Linked DNA regions of Homo sapiens: region 2 is linked to region 1. The links are contacts of gene promoters, found by promoter capture Hi-C in human tissues and cell types (Jung and others, 2019). All regions are on one chromosome and are shown on one strand. The core of a region is centred on a gene start or on the middle of the fragment in contact, and the rest is flanking DNA. Distances in the headings are between cores, read along the strand shown. Region 1 overlaps CSNK2A1 (casein kinase 2 alpha 1). Region 2 holds the start of SRXN1 (sulfiredoxin 1).

Region 1 (5,059 bases), core at 1,120-3,619:
AGACAGGGTCTTGCTCTGTCACCCAGGTTGGAGTGCAGTGGTGAGATCATGGCTCACTGCAACCTTGACCTCCCAGGCTCAAGTGATCCTTCCATCTCAGCCTACCAAGTACCTGGGACCACAGTTGTACTCCACTACACCCAGCTCATTTTTATGTTATTTGTAGAGAGGAGGTCTCGCTGTGTTGCCCAGGGTGGTCTCAAACTCCTGGGCTCAAGTGATCCTGCCAGAGTGCTGGGATTATAGGTATGAGCCACCACACTGGGCTTCACATCCCCTTTTTATCACCATCCCTTAACCCCCAATCTCTTAGTACCCTTTTATCTATCTGAGATTACAGAGTCACAGTTGAAGAATCCTCTGTTTTATTTTCCCGTATAATTAATGAAGGCCAGCCATTTGAAATTCATGTGAATACCTTTCTTACTATAAGCAGATTATTTGGTATGCGTGACAGTAAGGTGAAGCACCTCTTTGGGGGTACTGCAAAAATAGTTAGCTTGTTGTCTTCCCAGTGGAGAATCAGATCTGCTAGTTCATAAATTAGGTCCCAGTTGATGAGCCCCAAAGCTTCAAGGGTCATTCAGACAAGTACTGGAGAATCTCAAGAGTTTCATTAGTTATTAGTCTTTTCCCACTCCTCACAGAGGATGCCAGGGCCTTGAAACAGCAGAAGAAGACTGGGTGATGAGAATGTACATGACTAGTAATAGGAGTTGGCTATTCTCCATATGTCAGATGGTTTCCAGGGAGAAATGAGGACTCATTTTGTAATGTCATGTATACTTGGGAGTTAGCCCTCAGTGGCCGGGAATTAACCACGGCTACTATAATTTTTGTATTTTAAAGAATGAAGGTTCCAGCCTGTAAAGATAGGTTTCTGCTTATTAGCTTTCACTAAGGAGCTAGGGGATAGTAATTACTTAATACAAATTTACATGCATTTCATGTTTCTAAGCCCTTTCTGGAAGATCATCTCACTTCATCTTCCCTTCAGTCTGCAAGCACAGTTAGACAGGTTTTATAAGTGATGAACCAAAGCTGGGAAAAGCCCAACAGAGAGATCACTTTTAAGCATAGGAAAAGGGCTTTGAGATCCACAGACGAAGGCTGTCTTACACGTATAAAATGTTAACCAGAAGAGTAAAGTGGCTGTAAAGGTTATGTAGAGAAAGATACTGTTTCCTGTCAGAGGAGAGGCTGAGAATTTAAAAGTTTAGTATATTAAAAGTAATAAATTTCTGGGGACAGCATTTCTGTTGGGTTCATGCTGCTGTTTCTACTATTTTGGCCATATTCACACCTACACCTTTCTCTACGGTTTTCCTAGTGTCTTTCATTGCTGTCAAGGCAGGCATAGTAGTCACAGAGTCACCAATCCTACAACATAGATGACCTTATTTCTTTGGGAAGAAGAAAAATTACAAGAAAACATCTGGTTTTTGCATGTTTGATGTGTTTGTGTGTGTGTGCGTTTACAGTTTTAACTGATATTAAGTGAAGATAGATTAATGTCACCCAGGTTTTACAAAATCAAAGAAATAGAAATAATTTTAAAGACTTTTGGTACTTGAATTACTTTGTTGTTTTCTGGTCATTTAGTACATTTATGGAACCTCAGAAGGTTTGAGTTGAACAGAGGCAAGTTACAGCAGTTTTTTGGGTGGGAGAATTCATAAGTCAGCATGTGAATCTTTTGATCTCATATATTTGGAGTGGAATGTCATTAATTGTGTTTGTCACGGTTAAGGAATAGAGAATTAATCTCCATCCCAGTCTTGCTATTCTTCTGAAAGCCTTTAGCTGCCGACACCATGGGCATAAGGAGGTATCTCTTCTGGCTTCTCTTTGGGTGTGGTAGCTAAGTTACAGCTTACCTTGGAAAGATGAGCAGCTTGTAAGCAACAAAAAAACAGTATAGTTAACAAATGCATCGTCAACAAACAAAACAACCCAATCAAAAAATGGACAACAGCTTTGAATAGACATTCTCCAAAACAAATATACAAATGGCCAATAAGCATGTAAAAAGATGCTCAACATCATTAATCATTAGGGAAATGCAAATTAAAATCACAGTCAATGAGATACAACTTCATACTCATTAGGAGGGCTGTTACTGAAAAAAAAAAAAGAAGAAGAAGAAAAGAAAACCAAAAAATAGGCCAGGCACAGTCTATTTTGAGAGCACTTTGGGAGGCCGAGGTGGGAGGATCCCTTGAGGCCAGGAGCTCAAGACCAGCCTGGGCATAAGCAAGACCCCTGTCTCTATAAAAACAAGCAAAAAACAGAAAATAACAAGTGTTAGTAAGGATGTAGAGAAGTTGTAGCCTTTGCACTGTTCCTGGGAGTGTAAAATGATACAGTTGCTGTATAGGAGTGAGCCACCGTGCCCAGCTTGTTGAAACAATATGCTGGTTCTTCAAAAAATTAACATAGAATTACTACATGGTTCAGCAGTTCCACTTCTGGATATATACATAAAAGATTTGAAAGCGAGGTCTCAAACAGATGTTTGTACACCTATGTTCATAGCAGCATTATTTACAATAGCCAAGCTGTGGAAGCAACTCAAGTGTCCATCAGCAGATAAATGGATAAGCAAAATGTGGTGTGTGTGTGTGTGTGTGTGTGTGTGTATATATATACACAGTGCAATATCATTCAGCCTTTAAAAGGATTGGAATTCTAACACATGCTACAACATGGATCAGCCTTGAAGACATTATGCTAAATTAAATAAACAAAACAAAGGACAAATATTGTCTGATTCCACTTATATGAGGTTCCTAGAATAGCCAGCTCAGGCAGAAAATAGAATAGTGGTTGCAAAGAGTTGGGGGAGGGAAAATTAGTGTTTAGTGGATACATAGTTTTCATTTGGGATGGTAAAAATTTGTAGAAATGGATGATCTGGTGATTACTGCACAAGAATGTGAATATACTTAATGCAACTGAGCTTTAGGTTTAAATGTGGATAAAATGGCAGTTTTTATTTTTTTTAGATGAGGTCTCTCTCCTGTCACCCAGGCTGGAGTGCAGTGGTGCAATCACAGCTCACTGTAGCCTCGACTTCCTGGTCTCTGGTGATTCTCCTGCCTCAGCCTCCCAAGTAGCTGGGACTGCAGGCAGACACCATCACACCTGGCTAATTTTTTGTATTTTCAGTAGAGATGGGGTTTTACCATGTTGCCCAGACTGGTTGCGAACTCCTGGGTTCAAGCGATCCACCCTCTTAAGCCTCCCAAAGTGAGCCACTGTGCCTGGCCATAAAGTTTATGTTATGTATATTTTACCACAATTTAAAAAAGTGTTTCAACAAGCTGGGTATGGTGGATCACTCCTATAATCACAGTACTTTGGGAGGCTGTGGTGGGAGCATCACTTGAACCCAGGAGTTTGAGACCAGCCTGGGCAACATAGGGAAACCCCATCTTTACAAAAAAAAAATTTATTTAATTAGCCAGCTGTGGTAGCCCACGCCTGTGGTCCCAACTACTTGGGAGGCAGAGGTGGGAGGATTGATTGAGCCTGGGAGGTCAAGGCTGCAGTGAGCTGTGATCAGACCACTGTACTCTAGCCTGGCCTACAGAGGGAGACCTTGTTTCAAATAAGAAGATTTCAACAAAAAGTAAATAAAAATAGTACAAAGGGCATCTCTATTCCCTTTACGCACGTTTACCTATTGTAATATTTTACCCAGCTTGTTTTATCATTTGTGAGTGTGCAGTCATGTGTGCTATATATATACACATGTAAACGTGTGGGCACATTTTTTTCCTGAATCATTTTAGGGTAGATTATATGCATCATGGCTGTTTACTTCTAATTACTTCAGGAAAATTTCTTAACAATAGACATATTCTTGGGCTGGGCGAGGTGGCTCACGCCTGTAATCCTAGCACTTTGGGAGGCCGAGGAGGGCGGATCACCTGAGGTCGGGAGTTTGAGACCAGCCTGACCAACATAGAGAAACCCTATCTCTACTAAAAATACAAAATTAGCCAGGCATGGTGGCGCATGCCTGTAATCCCAGCTACTCGGGAGGCTGAGGCAGGAGAATCACATGAACCTGGGAGGCGGCAGAGGTTGTGGTGAGCCAAGATCACGCCATTGCACTCCAGCCTGAGCAACAAGAGCGAAACTCCATCTCAAAAAAAAAAAAAAAAGAATAGGTATATTCTCTTAACTATTGTGATTATGTACCAACTTCACAAATTTACATTGATACAATAATTTAATACCCTCTGAATTCCAGTTCTGTCGATATTGTTTTTTATAGCATCCCCCTCCACCTCCTGCAGTATGGGATACAGTCTAGAGTATTGCATTTATGCAATGTCTCTTTAGCCTCCATTTGTCTTTTATGCTGTGGACATGTTTTAGAAGTATAGTACCCCTTCCCCCTTTTTAAATAGACACTTCCTCTTTTTCTGAATGTTTCCTGGTAATTGAATTGAAGTTATGGCTGGGTGCGGTGGCTCACATCTGTGATCTCAGCACTTTGGGAGGCTGAGGTGGGAGGATTGCTTGAGCCTGGGAGTTCAAGACCAGCCTGGGCAACATGGTGAAACACCGTCTCTACTGAAAATACAGAAAATTAGCTGAGGGTGGTGGTGCGTGCCTGTAGTCTCAGCTACCTGGGAGGCTGAGGTGAAAGAATCACCGGAGTCCAGGAAGTTGAGGCTTCAGTGAGCCATGATCACACCACTGCATTCCAGTCTGGGCAGTGGAATAAGACCCTGTCTTAAAACACATACACACATACAAATTGAAGTTATGCTGTCTCAGCCAGGAGACTTGCATACGTGTTATATCCTTCTCACGTTATCACAATCTGGAGACTCAATACAATTTCATCTAAATGCATAATGAGGGGAATCAGCACATGCTGTAGGAGATAGGGAAGACATCATTGGAAAGGAACCTGATTTGATAGCATATTTCTAACATCTTACTTATTTTCCCCCGGTGTCAAATTTTGCATTAGCTCAGCTAATCTGTATTACTGTTTTATACCAGTTTTTAAGCTCCTGTATTAAATATAAAGAGAATATTA
Region 2 (5,059 bases), core at 849-3,348, 140 kb before region 1:
TGTAATGATGTGATGTTTTGAGCTACAGTAGCCATCTTGGGACCATGAGGGGCACACCGCAGGATAACAGAACACCAAGGATGATGGCACAAAAGGATAGACAGAACCAGGGTCTTTTTTTTCTGAGAGAGTCTCACTCTCTCACCCAGGCTGTAGTGCAACGGCATGATCTCAGCTCACTGCAACCTCTGCCTCTCGGTTTCAAGCAATTCTCCTGTCTCAGCCTCTGGAGTAACTGGGACTACAGGCGCGCGCCACCATGCCTGCCTAATTTTTGTACTTTTGGTAGAGACAGGGTTTCACTATGTTGGCTAGGCTGGTCTCGAACTCCTGGCCTCAAGTGATTCGCCTGCCTCAGCCTTCCAAAGTGCTGGGATTACAGGTGTGAGCCACCGGGCCCAGCCAGAACTGGAGTCTTTGGTCACATTGTTCAACTGCCTCTTTACCAACCTTGGACATACCTACCTCCAAACATTTTATTATGTGAGAAAACAAACCTTCTTATTGCTTAAGCCATTTTGAATTGGGCCATAGATATCTTAACACAGAGAATTTGATACCAGGAAATGAGGCCTCCCTGGGTACACCATGATGATAGAATCAGGCCAGAGCTCCACTTTTCCACTCTAGAAACTGTTATCCTGCCATTCTTACTTCCTGTAATGAGGAAGATGTTTTAGAAGGGATAACTTCCCTCTTGATGAAATTCTCTAATTCTGAATAATTCTGGGGCTGAGGTGTGGGTGTCAGTTCTACTTCTTGAAATAAAGTATCATTTAGGTGCGCACGGGAATTATGTTTCGAAAGGGAAAGGCTGGAGTCTTGGTGTCAGTGTTCTAAGGTTTTGTGAGAGACTAAGAACCCAAAATAAATGATCTTCAACAGCAAAATGGATGTTATGCAATTCACAGAGCACTATGAGCACTCTCTCAATTCACACAACTTTGAGTGATGGGCAGCATGACTTCATTTTACAGACGGGGTTCAGAAAGTGTCAGCAACTGGTGGAAGGCAAAGTAGAAACTCCTGGCTCCCTCCTTCGTCTCCAGTTTTCTCCAGCTGGCAGGGTAAGTATGCATTTCTCCATGTTCGTGCCATTCAGGTTGAGAAGGAAGACAAGCAAACCAGACATGCTTGTCTTCGACCGAGTCTGGGATCGTCCACCTTCCTGCTTGGAGTTGGTGGTTAAGTGGCCCCACAGTTTGGACTCGTGTGACCTGACTTTCATTTCAGCTGACCTTGAACAGCGGGTCTATAACTGCACCTACTTCCAGTAGTGTTGTAATGACACAAACAGACAGTGTGGAACTTGAAGGCAGGGCCCACCCATTGTCAGCGCGACTCCTGAGGGCTCCGTGTGACAGTCACTGTTGCTGAACCAAGGCAGCCAACGGTGGGGTAGAAGGCGGACTCTGGAGCCAGACCGTCTGGATTTGAACGCGGATTCGGCCACTTACTAGTTCCGTGATCTTGGGTACATCACTTAAACCTGTGTCTCAGTCTCCTCTTCTGTAAAATGGGAATAACAGTCATACCTTCCTTGCAGGGTTGTTTTGAGGTTCAGATACGTTAATACACGTGCAAAATGTTCGGAACGACTCCAGACACAGCCGGCGCCAGACTGGAAGTGGAACCGCTGGTGGGGATCATAACCTCGCTGGCTAGGAACCCCAGCAGCGGGGCAGCAGCGCACCGCGGGCTTTGCCGACTCACCCTGGCTGGGCAGGTCCGCCGCGCTCTCCCCCGCCCCCGCCCCCGCGGCCTAAGTCGGCCCGGCCGGTGCGTCACCCGCGCCCCTCCCGCCCCGCGACCTGCAAACTCACCCTGAGTCAGCCCGCCCGGGCGTTTCCACTCCCCGGACGCCGCGCGGCGCAGGGGAGGCGAGAGGCGCCCCCCGGTGGAGAGCCTGAGCCCCGCGCGAGTCTGGCGGCACCTGGCGAGCGGAGCCGGAGTCGGGCTGGGGACCGCGGGGTCGAGGCCGGACCGCGGCGGGGTCGGGGGAGAAACGCGCGCTGCCCTGGCACGGGCCCCCCCCCCCGGCCGCGCGGAATGGTATGGCCCGGCCGGAGTTAAGGCCGGGGGGAGGCGGCGAGTCCCGCGGCGGCGGCGACGATGGGGCTGCGTGCAGGAGGAACGCTGGGCAGGGCCGGCGCGGGTCGGGGGGCGCCCGAGGGGCCCGGGCCGAGCGGCGGCGCGCAGGGCGGCAGCATCCACTCGGGCCGCATCGCCGCGGTGCACAACGTGCCGCTGAGCGTGCTCATCCGGCCGCTGCCGTCCGTGTTGGACCCCGCCAAGGTGCAGAGCCTCGTGGACACGATCCGGGTGAGGCCTCGGGGAGTCCAGCCAACCGGAGGGAGGGCTTCGGAGGAGGGAGGTTGCCGGAGGAGGGAGGTCGCTGCGATGGACGCGAGACGGACTGGTTCCGGGCCCAGCCGGAGCTCAGCCTCTGCTGTGTGACCTTGAGCAAGTAGCTGGGCCTCTCTGGGCCTCTGTTTCCTCACTTGAGCAAGGAGGGAATTGGGCGAGATAATTAAAGTAGTGATGATAACGCTTATAACGCTAGTGCTTGCAGTGGTCCAGGAACTGCAGGAAGTCCCTCAGTTTCCTATGCCAACCCTAGGAGGTAGATAGTGGCTCTTTTGCAGACGAGAACTGAGGCAGGGAAGATTTCAGCGGCTTGACTAAGATCAGGCGCTTAAAAAGTGACACGGCTGGAATTCACACCCAGGCAGCCTGGGCCCCACTGCCCAGCACATGGCCACCGCACTACCCGGAGATAAGCCGTGGGCTCTCATGGCTGTGACAGTCAGTGACAGTGGGACTAGGTGTGTCATATCTGCTGGGAGGCCCTTGTCTGAATGGGAAGTGGGAGAGGTCAAGGGTCAGCTCCACCACTGAGGAAGGGTGTTAAGAATACCGGAGTGATTCTGGCAGGAACTTGGGGGCCCCGCAAGAACAGGTGTCAGGTTAGGCCTACATAACGTTGTGTCCCCTTCCCCCGACCCTTGGAAGGTGAGCACATGAGATCCCTAAGCCCCACCCAGCACCTCTACAGCCACCCCCGATAACTTTCAGTCCTAGTATTTACACTAGTGTCCTCACTGCCTGGAGCCACTTCCCCAGACAACCACAGGGCCTGCTCCCCTGCCTGGTTCAGCTCTCTGCCTCCTTGATCACCCTTGGTCAGAGTCACTGGCCTCTCTAGCTCTCCCCTTAGCCCGAGATGTTTTTCAGGATACCACTTATGTCCACCAGAAATTATATTATACATCTATTTGTGTTGCATTTTATTTTCTGTCTTCCTGACCTCACGTGCACTCCACAAGGGCGAGGACCTCGTCCCATCTTATCTGTTGCCACAATAGTAGCACGGCGCCTGGCTGAGATGGGAAGGGATCTGCCATGCATGCCCTGTCCCACCACTGGGCTTTTTCTCCCGTTGAGAACCTCTTCTATCTCTGCCTTGTCGTTTCTCACTCTTTCTCGGTCTTCCTGTCTCAGTGTCAGGATCTTCCCTGACCATCCCTACCGGGTTAGGAGCTTCTGTGGGCCTGCAGCCACCTGTGTGCCCACCTGCATAGCTCTGATCTCACTGGCTTTTTTTTTTTTTTTTTAAGACGTTGTCTGGGTCTGTCACCCTGGCTGGAGTGCAGTGGCACGATCTTGGCTCACTGCAACCTCCGCCTCCCGGGTTCAAGCCATTCTCCTGCCTCAGCCTCCCAAGTAGCTGGGATTACAGGCGCCCACCACCACGCCTGGCTAATTTTTGTATTTTTAGTAGAGATGGGGTTTCACCCTGTTGGCCAGGCTGGTCTGAAACTCCAGACCTCAAGCGATCTGCCCACCTCGGCCTCCCAAAGTGCTGGGATTACAGCCCACTGGCTTTTAACGTCCTGTCTAGACACCTGCCTTCCGTGCTAGAACCGTAGGCTCTGAGGGCCAGAACCAGCTCTGCCTTTGCTTACATACACCTGTATTAGTTTTCTGGGGCCACTGTAAGTTACCACAAAGTTGATGGCTTAAAACAACACAGGTTTATTTATGGTCAGAAGTCCAAAATGGGTCTTACTGGGCTAACACCAAGCAGGGCTGCACTACTTTCTGTAGGCTCTAGGGGAGAATCCATTTCCTCGCCTTTCCCAGCTTCCAGACGCCACCCACACTGCTTGGCTTATGGCCTCTTCCTCTGTCTTCAAAGCCAGCAACATCAGGCCAAGGCCTTCTCACATCGCATCACTCTGACCTCTTCCTCTACTTCCTCTTCCAGTTTTAAGGACCCTGATAATGGCATTCGACCCATCTAGATAACCTTGGATAATTTCCGCATCTCAGGATCCTTACCTTAATTCTGTCTGCCAAGTCCCTTCTCCCATGTAAGGTAACACATTCAGAAGCATTCGGGCGTGGACATCTTTGGGAGCCATCATTCTGGCCATCCACCATCGTGCCTCCAGTACCCGGCACAAGGCCTGCCTGGCACGGCTGCCCTCCTTAGTGCTCCACTAATGCCCGGTAGGCATCAGCTCACTGACTCTTCATCAGCAGCCCTCTAGGATGTTTTATTCCCAGTTTACAGGTGAGGAATGGTGTTCAGAGGGCTGTGTGCCCCAGCTGCTGTGGAGAGGAGCTGAGATCCAAAGTCAGGTGTGCCAGGTTCCAGAGCTCAGGCTTGTGACTGCTGCACCTTACTGCTGAATAATCATTTGTGGAATCATGAGAGAGAACCCGTGGACCAGCAGCAGGAGGCCTTCCACGCCGCTCACACTTAATGGGGTCTCCCCAGAGTGCTCTACCCTGCACCCGTCCTGCCCCAGACTTTCCCTGTTTAGAGGATGACCTACTCTCCACCTGGCTGTGTGGGCCCCTAACAGGAAGTCAACTTAGATTCTCCCTTTTCTCTTGCCCTTGGATTCACCCCTTCTGCCAGACCCCTTGGGCCTGCCCCGTAAATGTGTCCCAAACCTGTCTACCTCTCCCTGTCCCCACCACACCATCATCCAGACCAGCATCTTCTGCTGAATACCTGCAGAGGCCTCCCCTCTGCCTTCCAGCCCTGTGC

What was found. The method cuts DNA at HindIII sites, captures the fragments that hold promoters and counts their contacts. A contact is called where the count stands out against the background at its distance.
Region 2: the fragment with the promoter of SRXN1 here is called in contact with a fragment that was not itself captured in region 1 in 1 of the 25 tissues and cell types used here (thymus).

What each region holds. Positions count from the first base shown.
Region 1 is chr20:509,284-514,342 of GRCh38, reverse strand. The region is part of intron 2 of CSNK2A1 (casein kinase 2 alpha 1); the gene reads left to right. Among named protein-coding and RNA genes, the nearest start is that of CSNK2A1, 32 kb to the left of the region's middle. The HindIII fragment of the contact is 7,767 bases long and covers 1-5,059 here.
Region 2 is chr20:650,239-655,297 of GRCh38, reverse strand. SRXN1 (sulfiredoxin 1) reads left to right here and starts at 2,098. Exons shown (of 2, transcript NM_080725.3): 1 at 2,098-2,322. The coding sequence starts at 2,113. LOC107985423 (a long non-coding RNA gene) reads right to left here and starts at 2,345. Exons shown (of 2, transcript XR_001754452.2): 1 at 1,824-2,345; 2 at 1-1,509. RefSeq lists a silencer at 1,661-2,220. The HindIII fragment of the contact is 30,072 bases long and covers 1-5,059 here.